4 separate regions of the Homo sapiens genome follow, and all the other regions are linked to region 1. Evidence: promoter capture Hi-C in 16 types of primary human blood cells and fetal thymus (Javierre and others, 2016). All regions are on one chromosome and are shown on one strand. The core of a region is centred on a gene start or on the middle of the fragment in contact, and the rest is flanking DNA. Distances in the headings are between cores, read along the strand shown. Region 1 holds the start of ING3 (inhibitor of growth family member 3). Region 2 has its middle 170 kb from the start of FAM3C. Region 3 holds the start of LOC105375478 (a long non-coding RNA gene). Region 4 has its middle 150 kb from the start of FAM3C.

Region 1 (2,700 bases), core at 119-2,618:
CTACAAAACTGCAAAAAGATGTCAAAGAGATGTTAAAAGCAGCCAGAAGAAGGAAGGATGGGAAACGAAGAAAGGAGGAAAAAAAGAAGGGAGAAAAAGATCGAAAGTACTTGATTTTCGATGGAAGTAATGAAAAACTTAACTAGAAACTATAAAATTCTAATTCTTATTAGGATCGAAGTAAGGTTCCGTTGAGATTCATCATGATTCATCATTCACGACAGGAAAGTTTCCTGCTTAAGAGCAGTGAAAACCTTGAGTACAAGAGTATGTAATGGAGAAGGAAAGCAAGAAACACACACACACAGTTTCAACTGCAATTTGAAAAACAGAAAATGAACAATAAATTATGAACTAATGACAATTTCCCCAGAAAATCGAAAAGTTAAGAAGAGTGGAAAATAACAATATCTAGCATTTATTGAGTGCAAGAGTTTTTAATAAAAAACAATTTAAAAAGAAACTGAGTAGGGACGTACTAAATATATCACAGGAAAACATTTGCTGGGAGAGGTCGAAAAGTAGAAACTAAAGAACGCCGAAGACAACCAACCTCGAATATGGACTATTTACTCAACATAAAGTTACTGCTATTAACAGCCTATTAGAAATCAAGGCTGCATCCGTAATTCATGGCTGCTCACTGTGATGATGAAGATTATTATTATTATTATTTGCGGATGCAGATTGTATGTATAGATCAATTACATTAGAATGACGATTAGATGGACCGCAAACTAGAATATATAAGTGGCTACTGACACTATTTGTGCATCTTTTAATCTGGGAAATGTATATTCACTCCATAGTCTCAGTATAAACTATTTTAAAATTACACGTAAGCCAACCAGGTGTCTCTTTTATATTTTAGAGTGAATAATGAGGATAAATTCCAGTAGAGAGTTCTATTTTAAGCAATCCAAATTCCCCGAACTTTGCTGATTATTCTAGTGTTTAGAACCTTTGCTATTTGCCTGGCACTTCTTGAAACCCATAACTCACAAACGCCGGGGCATGGAATCACATCAAAGAACAGGTGAAAAGTTGTTCCTAGTTGTGTTATGCAGGTGCATACAACTCCCGCCATTCTCTGTGCAAAAATCAACAAATAAACAGAGGCACCGCATTTCGGATTCTGTTACGCACTGTTTGCAATGGCGCCCGGTATTCGTAGTTTCTGCGAGGGGAGCCGCCAGCGCGCCAACCCTCGCTGAGGAGGAAGAAAACTACATTTCCCACAGAGGCACGGGGGCGAACACCGGCCGGGCTACGTCATTGCTTGAACCAACCAATAGCAGCTCCGGGCGGCAGTGAGGCAAGCGCCTCAGGCGCCAAAGTGGTTTTTTTTTTTTTCTTTTTTTTTTTTTGCCGGAGTCGAGCGGGTGCTGCTAGCGGAGGCGCCATATTGGAGGGGACAAAACTCCGGCGACAGCGAGTGACACAAATAAACCCCTGGACCCCCTTGTTCCCTCAGCTCTAAGGGCCGCGATGTTGTACCTAGAAGACTATCTGGAAAGTGAGTGCGCGGCGCTGGCGGCGGCCGCCAGTGGGACGTGCGGGCGGGCAAGAGCGCGAGTGGACGGGCAGCGAGATGGCGGGAGGGAGGGGGCGGCGGGGGATGTTTCTTTCTCACGGTAACTGGCAGCCTCGTTGTGGGCTGCCGGCCCCCTCGACCCCCCTGACGCACGCGCGCAGTGACGTAAGCGCGTATTTCGCCGTTGGCCCCGCCCCTCTGACGGACTCTCCCTTTGACAGTGATTGAGCAGCTTCCTATGGATCTGCGGGACCGCTTCACGGAAATGCGCGAGATGGACCTGCAGGTGCAGAGTAAGTCGGCGCGTCTACTACTCCTGTTCGCTGCGCGCGTTCAGTGCCAGACTTGCTTGTCATCACTGCTAGCGCCTAGTGCTCTTTCACTGTCCTCTGGCTCACTCCGCTAGTGCATAAGGAGTTGTCAAAAAGAACTGGCAGCCCTGAATCTCGCCTTCCCCTTCCCTCCCATGCTACTTTTTTCTGGCTTTTGCAAGAGCAGGAGGCATTGGGACACGTGTATTCCTTTCTAGAATGTGGGATTGTGCAAAAAATATTTCTCTACCGTCATTGACATAGTTATCTATGTTTCAATGGACGTCAGCATAATAAATGTTGAGATGTCGTCTTGAGCCTTTTCGTATCGAACTTAGATTTCAGCATTTATACTTATTTTAAAGTTCATCCTATTCACAGTTTTTCAAGAGTGGAAAGCACAGAAGCAGAGGTTATATATAGCTCTTTAGAGACCATGGCAAATGTCAAATTTTGAAAACTTAGTTACACATTAGATACATTTTAAATTGTAACAGAATCGTCATTTTCTTGGTTAAAATGAGTGACAGAAATTAGATTTCACTGTAAAGTTTCTTATGTGCTGTACTAAAAATTTTAGCAGTTAATGAACATTTCTTTTTCTTTCAGTGATAGCTTGGTAGTCTCTAGGACTTTTTCCCCAAATTAACTTTGCTCTTTCATAGAGCAACGACTATAAATAGGTGGCTCAGGGACCACCTGCTGCAGCTAAGAACCTGTCCTTTTCACTGCTCCTGGCTTCTCTGCCCATGACCACACACCCACTTCTATACCCTTTGCTTATGAGTATATTTTTCCGGTAAGTTTCAGGTGGCACATAATAAAAAGTGGTGGCATGGAAGCCACTTTCTGTTC
Region 2 (3,010 bases), core at 195-2,694, 610 kb after region 1:
TGAAAAGTGAGTCCTCTTTTTTTTGCGTTTTATTCAAAATCAGTTGGAAATGTTTAAATGAATTATTTAATGGAGTACCAACAATCTCTTGACATTTTTAATGTCAAAGTGTCAACAATCTTTGACATTTTTAGATAATTGCAATTATAGTCAAATCCTGCAAACAGAAAGACATGGAAATTTAGTCCTATAAAATAAAAGCAAGGGATAAACTGAACAAAATCAATGAAAAGGCCCCAGATGGTGTACAAATTTTGAAATTCTACTTCATTTTGGAGTAACTTGACTTATGGCAATTTTTTTGGATGCAGCTTCTATTTTTGATCAGCAGTATTCGATCTGCTGTTAATTCCATCCAAGTATATATTTTTTCACTCAGATATTACATTTTCATCTCTAGAAGTTTAATTCAGGTCTTTTTTTTTTTTACATCTTTATGCTCTTCTTTAATGTTCTCATGATTTCCTTTATTTTCTTGAACATATGGAATCTAGTTGTAATAACGGTCTTGATGACCTTGTCTACTAATTCTATATTTGTTTCATTTTTGGATCTGTTTCTATTGATTTAATTTTCCCCATATGGGTCACATTTCCCTTTCATGTCTGTCAGTTTTGTTTGGATGCCATGCAATGTGAATTTTAACGTGCTGGATGCTGGATACTTATACACTCCTGTTCATATTATTGAATCTTGTTCTGAGGCTCAGTTTGTTACTTGAAAACAGTACAATCCTTTTGAAGCCTGCTTTTAAAATTTGCTAGGCAAAGCCTGAGCAGCCTTTAGTCCAGGACTCATTTTTTGTCATATGAATTAAGAGAGGTTTACACTCTGACTACTGGGAAAACACTATTTCAGACTCTACATGAGCTATGAGGATTGTTGCGTTTCATTATTTCTGATATTTTTCTCTCCAGTTTTGGGTAGTTTTCTCACGTGCATGTATTGATTGGTACTTACCTGAAGACTTGAGGGGAACTCTTCCTACTTTTCTGGGCTCTCTCTTTGTAAAGCTCTCTCTGCTCCATACAGCTTTCTCTTCTCTGGTATTCTGCACTGCAAATTCTATTTTCTTGGCCTCTCCGAATTGGCAACTCTGTCTTTCCACTAAGCAAGTCTGCCAGCCTGTGGTTTGGGTCCCCCTTCCCTGGACACTTTTTTTGGGAGTAAGCTAGAACAATCCTAAGCTTACTTCATTTGCTCTATTCTCTCAGGGGATCCCTTTCCTGAGCTGCCTTTTGTCCAATGTATGAAATCTGCTTTGTATATTTTGTCCATTTTAAAATTGCTTAAAGTGAAAGATCAAATGTGTTTGCTATTAATTATCAAATCTAGAAGCAGAAGTCCCTGAAAATGATATGTGAATAGAATCATTACTTATGTCTACAAATAGCATCAAATGATAAATCAGTAAATAAGTATCTCAAATAGTATACAATTTTCATTATTTTTGTGTCTACTTTTATTCACAAAAGTGTCCTAGTTTGGGTGATAAATTATCTGGTAGCTCTAATTCTAGTATTTTAATGATATATGTTAACATTTAGTACTAAAATAATTCATAAAATTCTGGGTTAAGTTTTTTGTTTTAATTCAAATACAATTAAAACATGGCAACACCTTAATTCTCTTTGTATGTGTTGATTAGTGAGCCCAATGATTAAATTTTGAAACAGTACCGTATAATTGTTTCCTATTAAATAAAGCTTTCAAATGCATATGAGGAGTCTGTCAAAAGCCTGGCACTCTGCCAGAATTCAGAGCCACATGGAGTTTTTGAACCTCATGTGCAAGGAATTCAGTTAAATGTATACTACTCAGTTTATCTCATACTTCCAATATATGTCCTTACTTGGCTCTTTTTGTTTTACTTTTCCCCATCTCTTCATCCCCTGTCCCACTTCCCTTCTCCACATGTCTGATATATCATATACTTGTATGTTCTTGAAGTGCATGTTTGCTTTTTTATTTGCATCGATGGCTTTGTACCATAGACTGAATTCTATTTTTTGCATATTTTAACTCCATGTGTTTTAAGATCTATTTATGTTGGTATATGTATATCTCATTCATTGTTTCTAGTTGCTACATAGTATTCCATTGTGTGTATCTACCACATTTTATTATAAGATGCCCTGTAGATAGACGCCACTGTTGCCTCAAACTCTTGACTATGCAAGCAAAATGATGATTATCCTTGCTCACTACCCTTATGGACATACATGTGAGTTTCTCTGCAATATAAATGCAGGAATGATCTTTTTGGATCATAAATTCTCTGAGTACTATCAGGTTACTATTCATGAAATTGTTACCATTCCTGAAATTGTTGCCAGAGTATGTGACCCTTAGCAATGCAGTGGCTCCTCATTTATCCACATAGTTCTCAACATTTGGTGTTTTTGTAGTCTATGTTTTGCCAATCTGAGAAATACAAAATGGTATGTCATCATTTCAGTTTTCATTAATCTGATTACCAGTGGGTTTCAGTCTCTCTGGTTTTCCTTCTTTTTCTAAATGATCTACCTGAGTTTCTATTCATATAGAAATAAAATCTTTTGACTTGTTTAGGCTCTATATTTTCTACTAATCTTGTTCAACCTTAATTTTGATGTAATTGAGTATGCCACCTTTTCACGTTATTGTTTTGATTTTGGGCCTCCTGTTTCAGAAGCCCTTCTGTACTCGTAGGCTTATAAAGATAATCTCTTACATTTTCCTTAATTTCATTTCAGTCTTTACTTTCCCAGTTAGGTCTTTAACTCTTCTGATGTTGACTTTTGAATATCATGCCTTACTCTATTTGATATGGTGGGCTACTTTTTCCATGGAATCCTTATAATGACTTTCACACATTACTAAATTCAAAATATGTGTCATGAATAAGATGATGTTTTAAGCACAATAGCATTTTAAAATAACCAGTGATGATCTATTTCTACACATTGATAACATCTATAAATTTTCAGGTATCGTTCGTGTGTGTTTGCTAGATATTTATGTATTTTAT
Region 3 (2,816 bases), core at 293-2,792, 550 kb after region 1:
GCCAAGGAGCATTCATTTGCATAATAGACTTAGGGTGGGGCCCCAGCCTTCCCCAGGCACTATGTAAACGTCATACCTGATTGAACCAATCTGTGAGCCCTGTGTAAATCAGACACCACCTCCTCAAACTGGACTATATAATCTGGTGCATTTGCCACTACCACCCAGTCCTTTCTACTCAGAGATCCCTTTCTCTATAGAGAGAGCTGTTTCTCTTTCTTTTCTCTTCTGCCTATTAAATCTCTGTTCCTAAACTACTCCTGTGTGTCTGTGTCCTAAATTTTTGTGACACACGATAATGAACCCTGGCGTATATACACCAGCAACATAGCCGCTTCAATAATGAACACTGTTCTCTCCAGGGAAAAAGAAAGAAATGAGTATTCAGGTATGTCGGGTCTTAGATCTAGGAAGTAAGACTTTCTTTCACCAACTTGGAAAGCAAAGCTGTATAATATAGATAACCTGGTGCAGGGACCCAAGGATTCTTGTTGGTGAATGTGAATGGAGAGAAGGTAAGAGTCCGACAAACTCAGTGCCTGATGTGAGCCTAGAAACCTGTGCTTACAAGCGGTGCTGATAAGGAGAAATCTTGATGAGAGAGCAGCAGTGGATGGTGGTGGGGGTGTCTGGCTGGAGTTAAGTAGAGCTAAGTGGCTATGAGTGCACCTTTGTAAACAAAATAAAATATGTTGCTTCTTCTCATGATAAAAAGTTGCCAGCTGTAGAGGCCTTTGAACCAGAGCAACTCCATCTTTAATAGGGGCTGGGTAAAAGAAGGCCAAGACCTACTGAGCTGCATTCCCAGATGGCTAGGCATTCTAAGTCACAGGATGAGATAGGAGGTCAGCACAAAACACAGATTATAAAGACCTTGCTGATAAAACAGGTTGCAGTAAAGAAGCTGGCCAAAACCCACCAAAACCAAGATGGCGACAAAAGTGACCTCTGGTCATCCTCACTGCTACACTCCCACCAGCACCATAACAGTTTACGAACGCCACAGCAATGTAAGGAATTTACCCTATATGGTCTAAAAAGGGGATGCATAAAAATTCCACCCCTGGCTTAGCATATAATCAAGAAACAACCATAAAAATGGGCAACATGCAGCCCTCCTATGAAATAGCCATTCTTTTATTCCATTACTTTCTTAACAAACTTGCTTTCATTTTATGGATTCACCTCAAATTCTTTCTTGCATGAGAACCCTCTCTTGAGACGTGGATCTGGACCCCTTTCTGGTAACACAGGTACTCAGGGCCCCACTTCTTTTCTCGGTTTCAGTGTGGATGTCCCACTTCATAGCCTCAAGCTATGGAGCCAATACTGATTGCTCTCCTGGGCAGTAGAAACACGGGGGTTGTAGTTCCACCTGGCTTCAAACCCCCAGGTCCGCTGGATGTTTATCTAAATGCGGTCCTTACAAACAAGGTTCTTTTAAATGGAAATCTAGCAGAACCTTCTCCTTTAGGCTAAAACTGTTCCACCAGGCAGTCTCCTGATGCCAGGATCTGATGACTCACTCTCTGCTTCCCGGTTCCTGTGTCCATAAATTCCTTGAATTAGCTAAAGAATGCAGTCCAGGCAAATTCTAGTTTCTTACTCAGACACTTGACTGAATATCTCCTTTACTCTCATTTCTTCTTTCTGCTTCTTTTATCATTTCCCTAAATTTATATTTTCTACTCCTACACTTTATAAGTTGCTTTTCTCTCTGTAAATACAAATTTCACACATTTTCAGAACCTACCAAGTATTATACATAGGCTTCTGGGGGTGCTACAGCCCATTCGACTCTCACAATTAAGACTGTGGTGCTGTTCAAACCAAACAATGTCAGGTTGTTAACATCACTTACATGGTTAACACACTTGATTAGGAGTCAGTGTCTTAATTGTGGAAACAATTCAAAATTTTCTTGTATATGACACAACCAGTGAGGTATTCTTTGGAATTTCCATGACCATGTTTCAGGAAGTACAAACTTTGCTGCTAGCATATTGGTCCACAAATCGCTATGTAAACAACAGATGCAACCAATCATGATCAGCAACCTTCACATCACCTCTTTAAAAGCCTGTCAGTGATTGGTCACTGCACATCTGTTACTCAGTTCACTCACAGAAAGCAAAACATGGAGTTGTGTTGCCTCCTGGTTTCCCAACAGTAGAGAGATGCTGTAAGCAAAGTAGTTTAACTTTTAAAGCACTACTACTGTTACCCTCATTCTCCTGGTGACTTCTGAATGTGGAAAATTTGCTTTTTAGCACCAACAGAACTGCATTATCCAGCCAATGGGCCAAGGGAGTTGTTTTAACTTTTAAAGGCTCATTTCTTATATGAACTTGAAGACAGGCTATGGATACTACAAGCTGGAAATCATGCAACTTCTTTAACTGAATTTTTGGAGAAATGTGACATAAAGCATGCAATTGAAAACATTTAAGCATTATGGCAGGAAGGTGTTAGAAACAAATGCTGGGTGCCGCAAGGAAGAACCAGCACTCAGACAAAAAGTTTTCTCAGCAAGGCAATTTACTTCTGCAGAAGGGTGCTGCCTGTGTCAGTCACGATCGCAAGAGCACACCAAACAAAGAAGAGAAGGAGTTTTTATCCCCAATGCAGTTCCTGTCCCTGTGGCCTTCTTTTATTGGCTAGGGTTGGACCGCACAATCTAAACTGATCCCAATTGGCTAAGACTTAAATTTTTCTAAATAGGGTAAACATGTGCTTTGTAAGAGGAGGAAAGGGTAGGAGTGGTCCGCCTGGTAGAGTACAAGGCATGTCTGGATATGTCTGGGCATGTCAGGGCA
Region 4 (2,989 bases), core at 12-2,511, 590 kb after region 1:
CAAGGGGCATTTAAAAGTTAAAATTGCCCGGGCATAGTGGCTCACGCCTGTAATCCTAGCACTTTGGGAGGTTGAGGTGGCCGGATCACTTGAGGTCAGGAGTTCGACACCAGCTAGACCAACATGGTGAAACCCTGTTTCTCCTGAAAATACAGAAATTAGCTAGGTGTGGTGGCACGTGCCTGTAGTTCCTGCTACTCTGGAGGTTGAGGCATGAGAATTGCTTGAACCCAGGAGGCAGAGGTTGCAGTGAGCTGAGATCATGTGACTGCACACCGGCCTGGGCAACAGAGCAAGACTCTGTCCCAAAAAACAAACAAACAAACAAAACCTAAATAACTACATAAATAAAAGTTGAAATTGAATCAAGAGTTCCTAATGATAACTTCCAGGAAAGCAAACTTAAAAAGATATATATGGTAAATTACCATTCTTACTGTACCTCTGTACATAATCAGGCTAAATCCAGTAAGAATGAAACCACATTATTTTATGATCAAGAATAATCACTTTTTTTCTCTTCTTTCCTTTTCCTCTTTTTTTTTTTTTTTTCTTTGAGATGGAGTCTCACTGTCACTCAGGCTGGAGTGCAGTGGCACGATCTCGGCTCACTGAAAGCTCAGCCTCCTGGGTTCATGACATTCTTCTGCCTCAGCCTCCTGAGTAGCTGGGACTACAGGCGCCCGCCACCACGCCTGACTAATTTTTTTGTATTTTTTTAGTAGAGACGGGGTTTCACCATGTTAGCCAGGATGGTCTTGATCCCCTGACCTCGTGATCCTCCCGCCTTGGCCTCCCAAAGTGCTGGGATTACAGGTGTGAGCCACTGCACCTGGCCCTGTTTTTTTTAAAGACTATCTTTGTTCAGGAAAACTTTGTTTCAGTGGAAAACTATAGCAGATCTTTTTGAGTTATCAGATTTGAAACAATAATTCAATCGTCTTTGAACTATTTGTGCCTCTTTATAAATTGTAGGTAACTGATGGATGTGCTAACTCTGTTTGGTTGAGATTTAATTGGCTTCCTTCCCCACTGTGCAATAACTGGTTTTGTAACCTACTTGTGATTAGACTGGATTTTGTTACCTTGAACAAATTGTCAATTTTTACCATGTTTTCAATTCTTCTCATTTTTTTTTTCAATATCTGGCTATAACCTTTCAAACTAACATTTCCAACTTTTCTCCCTCCCTCTTAACTTGGTCTCACTGAGAACAAAAGTCTGACTATCTAGAGATCCTTATCGAGACTCAAAGTTGCCTTGTAGCTGTTCTTTCACCTCCAGATCTGAAGAAGGACTGGGGGCTAAAACCTGATGACTTGATATATACCCTGAGGGACTTATCACCACAGAAGACCATAATGGACTGAATTTCTCCCTGAGCAAGTTACTGTCTAGGCCACTAAGAAAGCTCACTGAAATGCTCAGGTCATGCATAACCTTACATGAGAAGTAACCAAGACTGGACAACATCACCAAGAACATTAACTTCTTAACTTCAAGAAACTCCATAAGCAGTGCTACATAATCAAAAGGTTTTCATCCACTGACTCTGGAATCCACTGGACCAAACTTTCTCAGGGTTGAACTCTTGGGTCTTTACTTTAATCCAGCTTTATATATATATATTTTTTTTATTTTTCATATAGATGCCTGATCTCTAGGACTCTAAAACAACTGAGCTTTGCCTCTACCTTTCAATAGATGTGTTTATGGGAGGCCATTATTTTGGACTAGTTTCCTGTGTTAGGCCCTAGCAGACAAGACCAAATTATAATGGAGTTACTTGGGCTAAGTGCCACATAATCAAACTGAACTTTCCAACAGGTCAGTTTTCCAAAAAAAACCCCCAGCAGATTCTAGTACCTGAGTCAGCATAATAAGGATGCCTCCTCTGTTTGAACCCTATAAGGAAAGTAACGTTGAAAGGATGAGTCTGTTTTTTATTCTCTCTTTTTGTTTCCTTTGGCTCTTTTCATTCTATAAATCTAACCTCCTCCATTCAGTTCATTTGAACACTCACTCTATTTTATAGAATGAGGTGTTCCCTGATTCTAGAATTGAAAATAAAAGTCAATTATAAATTTAAACTAAATACATTGTAATTTTATTTTTTGATGGGTGATTTAATTAATTTTGAAGACATCATGTCATTAAGAGTCCTCGCAAGCATAGTTCTTTTACCCTGGTTCACCTCACTCAGGAGATTTATGGCCACCTTTGACTTGTGCAACAGTGAATGAAATTTATCTGTCTTGATCAAAAGGGAAAGAGGACTAACAATGTTGAACTTTTCCAGAGCCTCATGCTTTCAGAAAATAGTTGTGGTTAAGAAATCTCACCAACTTTTTGTTTTCAGAAATGCCTCACCGTTTTGTGTTCTGAAAAACAGCTTAAGGAAATGAATCACCCTTCTCCATGTGACTCACATAGCACTCACTGTCCATTCTTTCTTGTGACCCCCATCAGGCTTGTAAATGGCTTTCTTGTTTACCTGTGACAAGGCCAAACACACACTTTTCACCTTTGTTTGAACCTGCTGACAAAGCCAGGTATAAATTCCCCCTTCCCTTTGCCTCTACCCAATGTCCCATTATTCCTTTTTTTTTTTTTTTTTTGGAGATGGAGTCTCACTCTGTCATTCAGGCTGGAGTGCAGTGGCATAATCTCAGCTCACTGCAACCTCTGCCTCCCAGGTCCAAGCAATTCTCCTGCCTCAGCCTCCCTAGTAGCTGAGATTACAGGTGCACCCCACCACACCCAGCTAATTTTTGTAGTTTTAGTAGAGATGGGGTTTCACCATGTTGGCCAGGCTGGTCTTGAACTTCTGGACTCAAGTGACCTGCCCACCTCAGCCTCCCAAAGTGCTGGGATTACAAATTACAAACGTCTATTCTTTATCTCATGAATGATTAGCTAAGGTTACAACTGTTTGTTTTTGAACTAGCAAGACACAGAAATAAACATTTTCTGCCCACTTAAATAACAG

Evidence for each region. Contacts are between HindIII fragments. The CHiCAGO score rates a contact against its expected background, and 5 or more counts as called.
Region 2: a contact is called between a fragment that was not itself captured here and the fragment with the promoter of ING3 in region 1, in 1 of 17 cell types (total B cells). The highest score is 5.8, in total B cells.
Region 3: a contact is called between a fragment that was not itself captured here and the fragment with the promoter of ING3 in region 1, in 1 of 17 cell types (naive CD8 T cells). The highest score is 5.1, in naive CD8 T cells.
Region 4: a contact is called between a fragment that was not itself captured here and the fragment with the promoter of ING3 in region 1, in 1 of 17 cell types (naive CD8 T cells). The highest score is 6.7, in naive CD8 T cells.

What each region holds. Positions count from the first base shown.
Region 1 is chr7:120,949,409-120,952,108 of GRCh38, forward strand. ING3 (inhibitor of growth family member 3) reads left to right here and starts at 1,369. Exons shown (of 12, transcript NM_019071.3): 1 at 1,369-1,516; 2 at 1,756-1,827. The coding sequence starts at 1,489. RefSeq lists an enhancer at 1,912-1,991. The HindIII fragment of the contact is 9,487 bases long and covers 1-2,700 here.
Region 2 is chr7:121,560,157-121,563,166 of GRCh38, forward strand. No RefSeq gene overlaps it. Among named protein-coding and RNA genes, the nearest start is that of FAM3C, 170 kb to the left of the region's middle. The HindIII fragment of the contact is 519 bases long and covers 1,186-1,704 here.
Region 3 is chr7:121,503,203-121,506,018 of GRCh38, forward strand. All of the region lies in intron 1 of LOC124901737 (a long non-coding RNA gene), which reads right to left. It overlaps LOC105375478 (a long non-coding RNA gene), which reads right to left and starts at 1,957. Exons shown (of 3, transcript XR_927917.2): 1 at 1,862-1,957. RefSeq lists an enhancer at 1,860-2,816. The HindIII fragment of the contact is 9,018 bases long and covers 1-2,816 here.
Region 4 is chr7:121,542,571-121,545,559 of GRCh38, forward strand. No RefSeq gene overlaps it. Among named protein-coding and RNA genes, the nearest start is that of FAM3C, 150 kb to the left of the region's middle. RefSeq lists an enhancer at 1,733-2,932. The HindIII fragment of the contact is 7,032 bases long and covers 1-2,989 here.